Regions from separate parts of the Homo sapiens genome. Here region 2 is linked to region 1. Evidence: promoter capture Hi-C in 16 types of primary human blood cells and fetal thymus (Javierre and others, 2016). All regions are on one chromosome and are shown on one strand. Each heading gives the region's core, a stretch centred on a gene start or on the middle of the fragment in contact. The rest is flanking DNA. Distances are from core to core; before and after follow the strand shown. Region 1 holds the start of ESYT3 (extended synaptotagmin 3). Region 2 has its middle 17 kb from the start of LINC01391.

Region 1 (5,109 bases), core at 779-3,278:
CAGGCCCCATGCGCTACCCCTATGGCTACTACCGTAGAAAAGTGTGCACCCTTATCAGGAAGAGTCTTTGGCCCCTCATCCCCCAAATATGTAAGCTATTTGCAAAGCTTTACCATCAAATCGTACATTAAATATTAAGTGTTATGAAGTGTATGCCCACTTTGAAGTGCTAATTCTCAGTTCTTCAGAATGTGATTCTATTTGCAGGTAGGGTTTTTAAAGTGGTAATTAAGTTAAAATGAGTTCATTAGGGTGAGCCTTAATCCAATATGACTGATGTCCTTCTAAGAAGAGATTAGGACACAGAAGGAAGACGGTGTGAAGACGGTAGGAAGACAGCCAGCTGCAAGCCAGCAGAGGCCGCAGGAGAAACCAACCCTGCCAACACCTTGATCTTGGACTTCGGGGCTCTAGAAAGGAAAGGAAAAAAGTGTCTGCTGCTTAAGCCACGCAGCCTGTTGTACTCAGTTATGGCTGACTGATACAGTAAGACTTCATTTCTCTTATAAGATAAACTAAATGGGCCTTATATTTTTTTCTCACACCTCACTTTACAGACTACTGTCAGGAGGAACCTATGGCCCTGCTGGACTTTATAGGCCACAGGCTAGAGACAGTGAGGGGTCTGGCGACCTCCCCCGTGGGCCTGAGAGTAACTGGAAGAAATCTGAAAACGAAGAGCCCCAGCACCGGAGAGACAGTAAGGGTTTGCCGCAGACCAACCATTGGACGGAACACCCCTCTTGCCGGTGTTTCCCAAGCTCACCTAATCATAAGAATCACCCAGGATACCTCTGTGCCACCCTGGGAGTTATGCAATGGGGCCCAGAACTTGGGTTTTGTTAGGTAAGCCAGGACCAGAAGCGTTTGAGGAATCGTAGTGCCGCCCATGCCGCCCCAGGAGATGGGTTTGTCGGGGCAGTGTGCGTGTGCCGGCATCCCTATCCGGCGGAGGGAGGGAGGGAAGGAGGCCCGGGGCCCGGCGCCGTCGGTCTCCCAGCCGTACCCGCCACTCCACCTCCAGCCCCGCGGAGCCCTCCCCCTACCGCAGTCCAGGCCTCGGCCGAAAGCAACTGGGCCCGCCGTTTCTGTCACTGCGGTATTTGCCCATCTACGTTTTGCGTCCGGCGTTCGTTCTCTGAATCAACAGGCGGGTGGAAGAAATGCCTTCTGATTCCAACCCGAGTAAGTCTGCGAAGTCCCAGACGCCCTTGTTTTTCTCCCGGGTGTGGTCTGCCCGTGACTCTTCTCTCGAGCTCTGGGGCCTTAAATGAAACCCAAGTTCCCCACTCCCACCGCAGTCGGACCAGAGGTGGACGTGAGGGTGCTGCGCGCCGCGGGAGGGGCGGTCACCGTCCCCAGGGTCTGCGCCCCGGGAGCGGTGGGGAACGGGGTGTGCAGGTCGCCGGGCTCCCGCCCTGCCTCGGGTTTGCGCGCACCAGCTCCCCGCTGACCGCAAGTTCCTCCGAACCTCGAAAGGCATCTCCCCACCTCCCACTCCCACCCGGCTTGGCTCACCCAGGCTGGCAGGTGCTGGCCCCGCAGCTCGCGGCTGATGAACTCGCGTTCATTGTCAAGGAATTCGAAGGCGGCGGCCAGGCGCCCAAGCTTCCCGCGGCGGTTCCTGCGCCACCACATCCACAGCAGGGCGCCGAGCAGCAACCAGGTTATGCTGAGCCCCAGGTAGCCAGCTAGGTAGACAGGCCCCAGGTAGAACAGCACGCGCACCACGAAGGTACAGAGCTCGGGCAGCAGCTGGCTGGACAGGCGCAGCTCGGGGCCCGGCGTGCGCTGGGCTCCCAGGGCGCTGGGGGCCCCGGGGGCGCAGGGCTCCTCTGCTCGCATCTCGTCGCCGCAGTCTTGCCCTTCCCGAGAGCTTCACCCGAGCTTAGGTCCGCATGCCCCCACGCCCATGCGCATCTGTCTCCCAAGCTCGAGGACCAGGACGCCGCGCCCCCTTGCCCTGCTGGGACTCTCGGCGCGCCGAGCTCAGGGTTCTCTGCGACGGAGAGCAGCGCCTGGAAATGCACCGCGCCGCGCCGCGCCGCCCCAGTTCTCGGCTCCAGTGAGTCCGCAGCTCCGGAAGTCTCCGCCCTAGAGGGGCGGGCCGCCCGCCTGGCTCCTGCCCGCTCTAAAGAGCAACCAGCCGGTGAGCTCGGCCTCCGACCCCAGCACGTGGCGCAGGCGTCAGCCGGAGGTGTGCACTCGCCAGTCCGGGTGGACCAAGTGCTGCCCTAGGTGGTTAATGACTCACCAACACCTGTGTACAACTGGCTTATCATGGATAAACATCACCTAAAACCTGTTTCCTACACGCGGTCTATAATACACAGTATAGTCTGGACTCAGCTGGCATTCGAGGCCCTCCCTGGACAGGCTCAGCCAGGCCTCCCCAGCCTCAGGTCCTGCGTCCCGGCCCTCCAACTGGCCCCTAGAGCCTGCAACGCTGCCAGCTCCTCTGGCATCTGTAAAGCTTGGACCTAGCCCCCAGCCTCACCAAGCCGAGCTCAGGGCCCCTCCTGCGCGCCACAAAACCCTCTGCCCCTCTCTCCCCATCCTCTCTTCTAGGTGTCTGTTTGGATCGTCATTCCCTGCATCATCAGACGGGGAACTTCCGGGGACCGGCCCGTCTTGGCCATCTGTGGGGCGCCCAACAAGGGCAAGCGACCGGCGAATAAAAGGAAAGATGAAGAGGAAGCCCCGAGGTGCCTGAGAGTCAATGGTGAAGCCCATGGTTTCTAACCCTTTAATGATCAGAGCAGGTGGAGCTCCGAATCTCTTAAGTTCGGATAGTAAATCGTCTTGCGGATAGCATATATTTCAGACGGCCACATGAAAGGGCTCACATCAATTACTGGAATGTGATTTTGGAGTTGACAAATGTACCAGAGTGATTTGGAATGACTCTACTGTTTCAACAGCTTTATCGAAAGGCTGGAGCCGATGGATAGCAATCAAAATATTCTCTTTCCTTTTCTCTCTCTCCCTCCCTCCCCCCTCCCCACCCCGCCCCGGTCTCCCGTTCTCGTTCTGACTCTTGCTCTGTCACTCTCTTTTTCTCTCTCTGGCTTTATCCTCTCTCTTGGATAAAATTACTTACTGCAATGAGTTTTTTCAACAATACGTGAGTTCCTGGTGGTCAGAATACCTGGACCCTTCTCTATTGTTCTTGGCTTTCCAGGACTCAGCCAAAACAGAGGCTTAAAGTCCCCCAACTTAACATTCTCCCAGTGTAGCCTGGGAAATCAACGGAAGAAATGCTGCTCGCTGGAGTTCCTTCTTGAGAGTTGCATGTACACAGTCCTAGTAAAGGCTCTGAGAAGTCCTTCAGACAAAAAGTTATTAAATTCTATTTAACCCAGTGTTTCCCAGATTATTTGACCACAGAATTCTTTCCTCAAAATATTTCTCTATTGGTTAACCCAGGTCTGCTGAAGCAAAAGAGAGTGTAGGCTAGGGATACTGGGAATTCTCCTGGAAGCTGAGGCAGAATGTGTCTGGCTCTCAGGATGGATGGACCAGGAAACTAACTGCCAGAACTGCGCTCCTCATCCTTGTGGCCCTCCCTGCTGACCTGCCTGTCTGGTTGAAGTGCAGAACACAGCACTTTCCCCCCAACATCCAGAGATGGAGGACACAGGTCTCACCAATCCAGAGAGACTGCCTTGACCCTTATCCTGTCCCAATTCCAAACCCCTTGGAGACAGGATCCTGCTGAATCTGTCATCCCCTTCATCCTTCACACACAGCAAGTCCACACCTCAACCTGGGCTAGTTTGGGAGGGGGTGTGGAAGGTAGTGAGTTTGTGGGGGGATTACTAGAGAAAGGAAGGTTGTTGGTTTGTGAACTGGATGGACACCCACTGAGACAGATGCCCAGCCTGAGACGACCTGTGGGACATTGCCATCCCCAGCTGCATCGCCTTTCTTTCCTTGAACACATCAAGCTCATTTATGCTGCAAGGCTTTTGTACTTGCTGTTCTCTCTACCTGGAATGTTCCTCTTCTAAAACTTCTCCAAAGTACGTTAGGGTGATGGGATTATGATTTCACCCCCCTCCTTTTTAAAGTTATTTTATTTTTTATTTTATTTTATTTATTTTTTGAGATGGAGTCTCACTCTGTTGCCCCATCTGGAGTGCAGTAAGGCAATCTCAGCTCACCGCAACCTCGGCCTCCCAGATTCAAGCGATTCTCCTGCCTTAGCCTCCTGAGTAGCTAGGATTATAGACACTTGCCACCATGTCCAGATAATTTTTGTATTTTTGGTAAAGATGGAGTTTTGCCATGTTGGCCAGGCTGGTCTCGAACCCCTGACCTCAATCCACCCACCTCAGCCGCCCAAAGTGCTGAGATTACAGGCGTGAGCCACTGTGCCTGCCCCCCCCCACTTTTAAAACCTTATTTGTCATTAAATTACTCTCACAAATTAAATATATGAGAACATTGAGAATATGGCATTGAAAACTCTATACCCTACCTGGGATGGAATCTGTGCCTAGAACACTGGAGACTTTATTTCCCTTGACCTGGACATCTAGTTACTACTACCAGCAAAAAAATATTTTATAGATGGTTTGATCACAGCAAAACCTGGGGAGAATAATGCCTTCCACAGCCTTTGCCTGAACACATTTGAGAGTGTATCCTATTACATACCAACTATTGAAAGAACAGTAGCTCAAATAAATATTCGTTGGTCACTAGTGTGGACTGAATTGTGTCTATGTTGAAGTCCTAACCCTTGGTACCTATGAATGTAATCTTATTTCAAATAGAGTCTCTGCAGATGTAACCAAGTTAAGGTGAGATCATACTCAATTAGGGTGGGCCCTAAGTCCAATGACTGGTGTCCTTATAAGAAAAGAGAGATTCAGAGATAGCGACACAGAGGAGACACAGGAAGGGAAGGCCATGTGAAGACACACGTAGAAACCAGAGTGGTACAACTACAGGGGAGGAATGTCAAGGATTCCTGGCACCCACCAGGAGCTGGAAAGAAGCAAGGAAGGATTTTTCCCTAGCGCCTTGGGAGAGAGCTCAGCCCTGCTGGCCTCCAGAACTGTGGGAGAATACATTCCTGTTGTTTTAAGCCATCCAGTTTGCGGC
Region 2 (5,640 bases), core at 2,652-5,151, 490 kb before region 1:
GGGTGGGACTTGGTTGGTTCACTATAGGACAGGAGTGACCAATCAAAAACAGGCTCCAAAGGGGATGAAAGAAGCTAGGCACATGCATCACTTGTTGACTTCGTAGGTGGGGGGTGGGAGGGCTGTATTAGATAGTTTACCCACTGCAGACCTCTCTGGGACTTAGCCATCTGAATGCCAGGATAGTGGTAGTGGGAGACTCAAGGCCAAGTTGCTTCCATCTCCATATTTACTAGCTGGTTCTCAGAGAGTTTTCCCTGGACCGATAGCACCAGCATTCCCTGAAAAAATGCAAATTCTCAACCTCCACTCCACCTGCAAAATCAAAAACTCTGGAGGTGGGGCCCAGGAATTCGCCCTGTAACAAGCTCTCCACGAGATGCGGAGGCTCCCTCACTCAAGTTTGAGGACCACTGACCTTGGGGTGCCCCAACAAACAAAGGATCCAGGCCCCCGCGGGCCGTTGGCCAGGAACTCCGACTTCCCCGCCCCAGTCGCCCGGAGCCCCTCAGTGCCGTGTCTCCGTGTCCCCGCCAAAGATCGCAGGATAGGCAGGCCCGGGGCCGTCGGCGGCAGCCTCGCAGGGAGGAATGGTGGGTGGCCTTGAGATTCCTCTCTGGCTTATTTTGTTCCATTCCGGGAGTAATAATTTGTTTCGTATTGGAATCAAAGGGCCTTTCGTGGCTCTTCCGTTCTATCTCGTCAGCTCTCATGCCCAGTAGGAAGAGGCTCGGCCGCGGTGCGGCGGCTGCTTCGCATTAGGGCGAGCGTGGTCCCCATTAGGCCACCAGCTCCATGCAGAGCTTGTCTCCACTAATGGCACGCATCTGACCGGGCTCTGCGCCGCGACACCCAGGGACCACCCCACGTCCCCCCGCACTGTTACAGATGGCCCCAGAGAAAAGCGGAACTGGGTGGCTGGAGCCAGCCTTGGCAGTCCGAAGAGCTCGTGTCCACTGCCTGGAAGTCACAGCCATGAGTGACTCTGTTTAGTGTCAGACGCTGACCCCAAAAGAGGGCTACAGGCCCTTGTCTCTTCAGGGGAAGTAAATACACAGGCCCTTAGACTTTGGGACCCGGGCCTGCCAAAAGTAACTCCTAAGGAGGAAAGCATGGCAGGGTTTCCCTGAAAGGGTGAGAGGAAAATGGCTGCGTTTTACCTGTCTACCTAGCACCTGTGCCGGAGCCCCTCACAGATGATCAAGGAAACACGGTAGACCTGTTTTTCTCCTGGTTTAGCATCCATTTTACAAACAGTATAGAACATCTAATGAAGAGAATATCAAAAACAAAAAGCCATAGCCAGGCCTCCTGCCTTAATATCCCTTCCAGACAAGGAGGCACTGAAAGCAGCCCCCACCACCCACTGGGGAAGGGGATGGTGTCCTCAGCCCTGGCCAACCAAGGCCGCATGCCTTCCACACACACCTTCTTAAGGGTGACAAAGGATCTGTGCTGTGGACCTGCCAGGGTGTGGAGAAATAGGCAGACCCCTGCAACCACCAGAGCAAAGAATGTTACACAAAAGGCCCCATTGTTCGGGTCAAATTTCACACTTATTTTCTTTGATTTTATTAAATGTTTTATTGCACAAACAATATTGTAGTAATCATGGAAACTCGAAATTCAGATGGAAAGCCAATAACCATCCAACGTCTAACCACTAACAAAGCAATTCTTTTCATTTTTCCATATTGGTACACAATTCCCAGCTGTTTAACAACTGTATGACATATTATATGTCATACATATGTATATGTATAACATATTCAGCCACATGGATGTGGCCCAATTTATTTAATTCCTACATTTAGGATGTTTCCAGGTTGTTCACTACTATCAAAGGGAAACATTGCAATGGGCATTTGGAGATTTGTTTCTTTCCTTTATTTATTGAGGAATGCACATTATTTTAATAACTTTTATGTGATTAAATAGGCAATAGATATTTTTTGCAGGGAATTTGAAAAATTCAGATCATAAAAATCAGCCATAATCCCAAATGCCCTTTTGCTCATTAAGCTTTTCTCACCTCTGGGCTGGGCACAGTGGCTCATACCTATAATCCTAGAGCTTTGGGAGGCCAAGGTGGAAGGATTGCTTGAGGCCAGGAATTCACAAGTAGCCGGGGCAACATAGCAAGACCTGTCTCTACAGAAAAAAAAAAATTAATTAGTCGGGCATGGTGGCACATGCCTGTAGTCCTAGCTATTCAAGAGGATTCCTTGAGCCCAGGAGGTCAAGGCTGCAGTGAGCTATAATCGTGCCACTGTACTCCAGCCTGGGTGACAGAGCAAGACTCTGTCTCTAAAAATAAATAAATAAATAAAGCTTTTCTCACCTCTGAACTCTTACAGCACATGTTCTCTTTACCCCCATGATTTGACTCAGTTGTTTTCATCAGGTCTTACTTTGCGTTTCATGGCTGTTTGTCTTTTCCATACTCCTTAATTGTAATATTATTGAAGGCAAAAACCATGCCTTTTTCATCTGGAAATAACCATGATAGCTAGCTTTTATTTGGTGCCTATTCTATGCCAGCCATGATACATTATCTCACTTAGTTCCCACAAACTATATTTCCTTTTAATATGTAAGGAAAGTGAGACTGAGCAAGATTAAATAACTTGTGCAGGGCCCCCAGCCAGTAAATAGCACAGGGACAGAGGCCAACTCCACATTCTAACTGGGATCTTGCCACTGTAGGGATGTAAAGTAGAACTGTATTAGACAGATGACCTCTAAAATTTCCTGTGATTCATGACAATATTAATCTAGCTGTGGTTTAATAACCTGCTATATCTGCATCAATTACAATACAATACTGTGGGATTTTATTTTAAAAGGAATGTAAATAATGAGGGCTTTATTATCTCACAATAAAGAAGACAGAGATTACTGGCTGTAGGCTATAGGTACAGTCACTCTAAAACTTGGGCACAAGCCCTGCTACTTGTATCTTTTACCTCTGTGGACTGTAACAGACATCACATTCAGAATTTATTTTTCTTTTTTTTTTTTGAGACAGAGTCTCCCTAGAGTAAGACCCAGGCTGGAGTGCATTGGCCAAATATTGGCTCATTGCAAGCTCTGCCTCCTGATTTCAAGCCGTTCTCATGTCTCAGCCTCCCAAGTAGTTGGGATTTTGGGATTACAGGCATATGCCACCATGCCCAGCTAATTTTTCGTGTGTTTGTGTGTGTGTGTGTGTGTGTGTGTGCGCGTGCATTTAGCAGGAATGGGGTTTCACCATGTTGTCCGGGCTGCTCTCGAACTCCTGACTTCAAGTGATCCACCTGCCTTCAGCCTCCCAAAGTGCTGGGATTACAGGTGTGAGCCACTGCACCTGGCCCACATTTAAAATTTAAAAAAAGAAAGAAAGAAAGAAAGAAAAATTCTGATGGGAAAAGGAGCCATTTCTTCCAGACTCTTTCTTAGAAGTCTGATCCACTCTCCCTGAATCCCTCAGTAGAGTTCCCTATTCATCTCATGGGCCAGGACTGAGTCTGTTACATGCTGGTTCCTAAACCAACTGTTGGCAAAAGAATGAGACCACCATGGCTGACTCAGATAACTGGGATCTGCCTAAGAGTAGAGGCCAAGGTCTCTATGATTTTGTTGTTGTTGTCGCATACTCTGCTTATGTAATTTTTTTTCTTTTTTGAGACAGGGTCTCACTCTGTTGCCCAGGCTGGAAGGCAGTGGCACAATCATAGCTCGCTGCAGCCTCGAACTTCTGAGCTCAAGCGATCCTCCTGCCTTGGCCCCCCAAAGTGCTAGGACTACAGATGTGAGCCACTGCACATGGCCCTATGTAATATTTGAGTTACTTATATCCTTGAACAAAATCAGAGTTCCCTGACAAGGAAGAGAGGATGAAATGGCTGATAGGGAGACAGATAATACTATAATCTTAAAATAAAAAAAAGTACCAGCTGGGCACAGTGGCTCATGCCTGTAATCCCATCACCTTGGGAGGACAAAGTGGGAGGATCACTTGAGTCCAGGAGTTAGAGACCAGCCTGGGCAACGTGGCAAAACCACATCTCTACAAAAAAATTAACCGCTGTGGTGGTGCATGCCTGTGGTCCCAACTATTTGGAAGGCTGAGGTGGGAAGATCACCTGAACCTGGGAGGCGAAAGTTGAAGTGAGCTGAGACCTCACCACCACTGCACTCCAGCCTGAGAGATAGAGACCCTGTCAAAATTAAAAAAAAAAAAAAGGTACAGAAATAATGAATATATGTGAGCTACAAGTTAAGCAGTCTGAATATTTCCTTCTCTCACTTGGAATATTATTACTCATCTTTATTTATTTATTTATTTTTGCAATGGAGTCTCGCTCTGCCACCCAGGCTGGAGTGCAAGAGCGCTACCTTGGCCCACTGCAACCTCTGCGTCCTGGGTTCAAGTGATTCTTCTGCCTCAGCCTCCTGAGTAGCTGGGATTACAGGTGCCCACCACCATACCTGGCTAATTTTTGTATTTTTACTAGAGATGGGGTTTCACCATGTTGGCCAGCTGGTCTCGAACTCCTGACCTCAGGTGATCTGCCCGCCTCAGCCTCCCAAAGTGCTGGGATTACAGGCGTGAGCCGCCGCACCCAGCCTATTGCTTATCTTTAAGTCAGTCTATAGTTGTAAATAAATCAGCTAGATTTAACTGGGTGTTTGTGTTTTAAACTACAAAGTTTTGCAGGATAAAGAAAAAGGAACTCAATGTATGGTCTTGAGACTGGACTGCCAATGGGATCAGAGGTCTCTCTGTCTCTCAGCAGCCCTGTCTCTCTCTCCTGGACTGCATGATCTTTCCCAAGACCTCCCTGCTTCTTTTGCATGTCCCCCTGTTCTCTGCTGAATTGACCACTCCCTCCTGGATTTGTTATACATATGGCCACTGAGGACCCTCCAGCCCCTACTCCTTCTACAAATTGAAAACCTCTCTTGGAAATTCTTAATTCCAATCTCCAAGGGACAAACTACTTGAGGCTACTCATCCTGTCAAGACAAGTCACCTCAGAGGTTGCTGGCCTACCCAGTACCTGGAATGGTGGCCCTGGGGTCACAGGCCAGCCTTGGTCCAAGAAAGAGGACAGGGTCACTTGTCAGAAAACCTTACTGCTGAACACCTCCCGGGTTCAAGTGATTCTCCTGCCTCAGCCTCTGGAGTAGCTGGGACTACAGGCGTGTGCCACCACACCCAGCTAATTTTTGTATTTTTAGTACAGACGGGGTTTCACCATGTTGGCTAGAGTGGTCTCAAACTCCTGACCTCAGGTGATCCACCCGCCTCGGCCTCCCAAAGTGCTAGGATCACAGGCGTGAGCCACCGCACCCAGCCAGAGAGGAAGTGTATTTGTATATTTCACCCTGTCTTTCACAGGGGTTGTTTCAATGGCAAGCAAGTGAATTGAGCCAAAGAGACCCAATTGCAGAACTTTTGTAGGGACTGAAGGCAAAGAGAAGCTTCTTTCCACTAAGATTGATAGCTGTGGGGAAGAAATAAGCCCAAAACTTTAGAGAGCACCCAAGTGGAGAAAGCCTGCATGGGAGTAAAGCCAGCACAAAGGAAAGCAGAACAGACAGGAGTAAGACTGCGCTCTGACCACGCTGTTCAAGCTCCTGGATCCAGTTATACCT

What was found. Contacts are between HindIII fragments. The CHiCAGO score rates a contact against its expected background, and 5 or more counts as called.
Region 2: a fragment that was not itself captured here is called in contact with the fragment with the promoter of ESYT3 in region 1 in 2 of 17 cell types (megakaryocytes and M0 macrophages); the score reaches 7.4 in megakaryocytes.

The regions. Positions count from the first base shown.
Region 1 is chr3:138,431,535-138,436,643 of GRCh38, reverse strand. It overlaps ESYT3 (extended synaptotagmin 3), which reads right to left and starts at 2,028. Exons shown (of 23, transcript NM_031913.5): 1 at 1,519-2,028. The coding sequence starts at 1,845. The HindIII fragment of the contact is 865 bases long and covers 1,611-2,475 here.
Region 2 is chr3:138,924,067-138,929,706 of GRCh38, reverse strand. No RefSeq gene overlaps it. Among named protein-coding and RNA genes, the nearest start is that of LINC01391, 17 kb to the left of the region's middle. The HindIII fragment of the contact is 3,135 bases long and covers 2,334-5,468 here.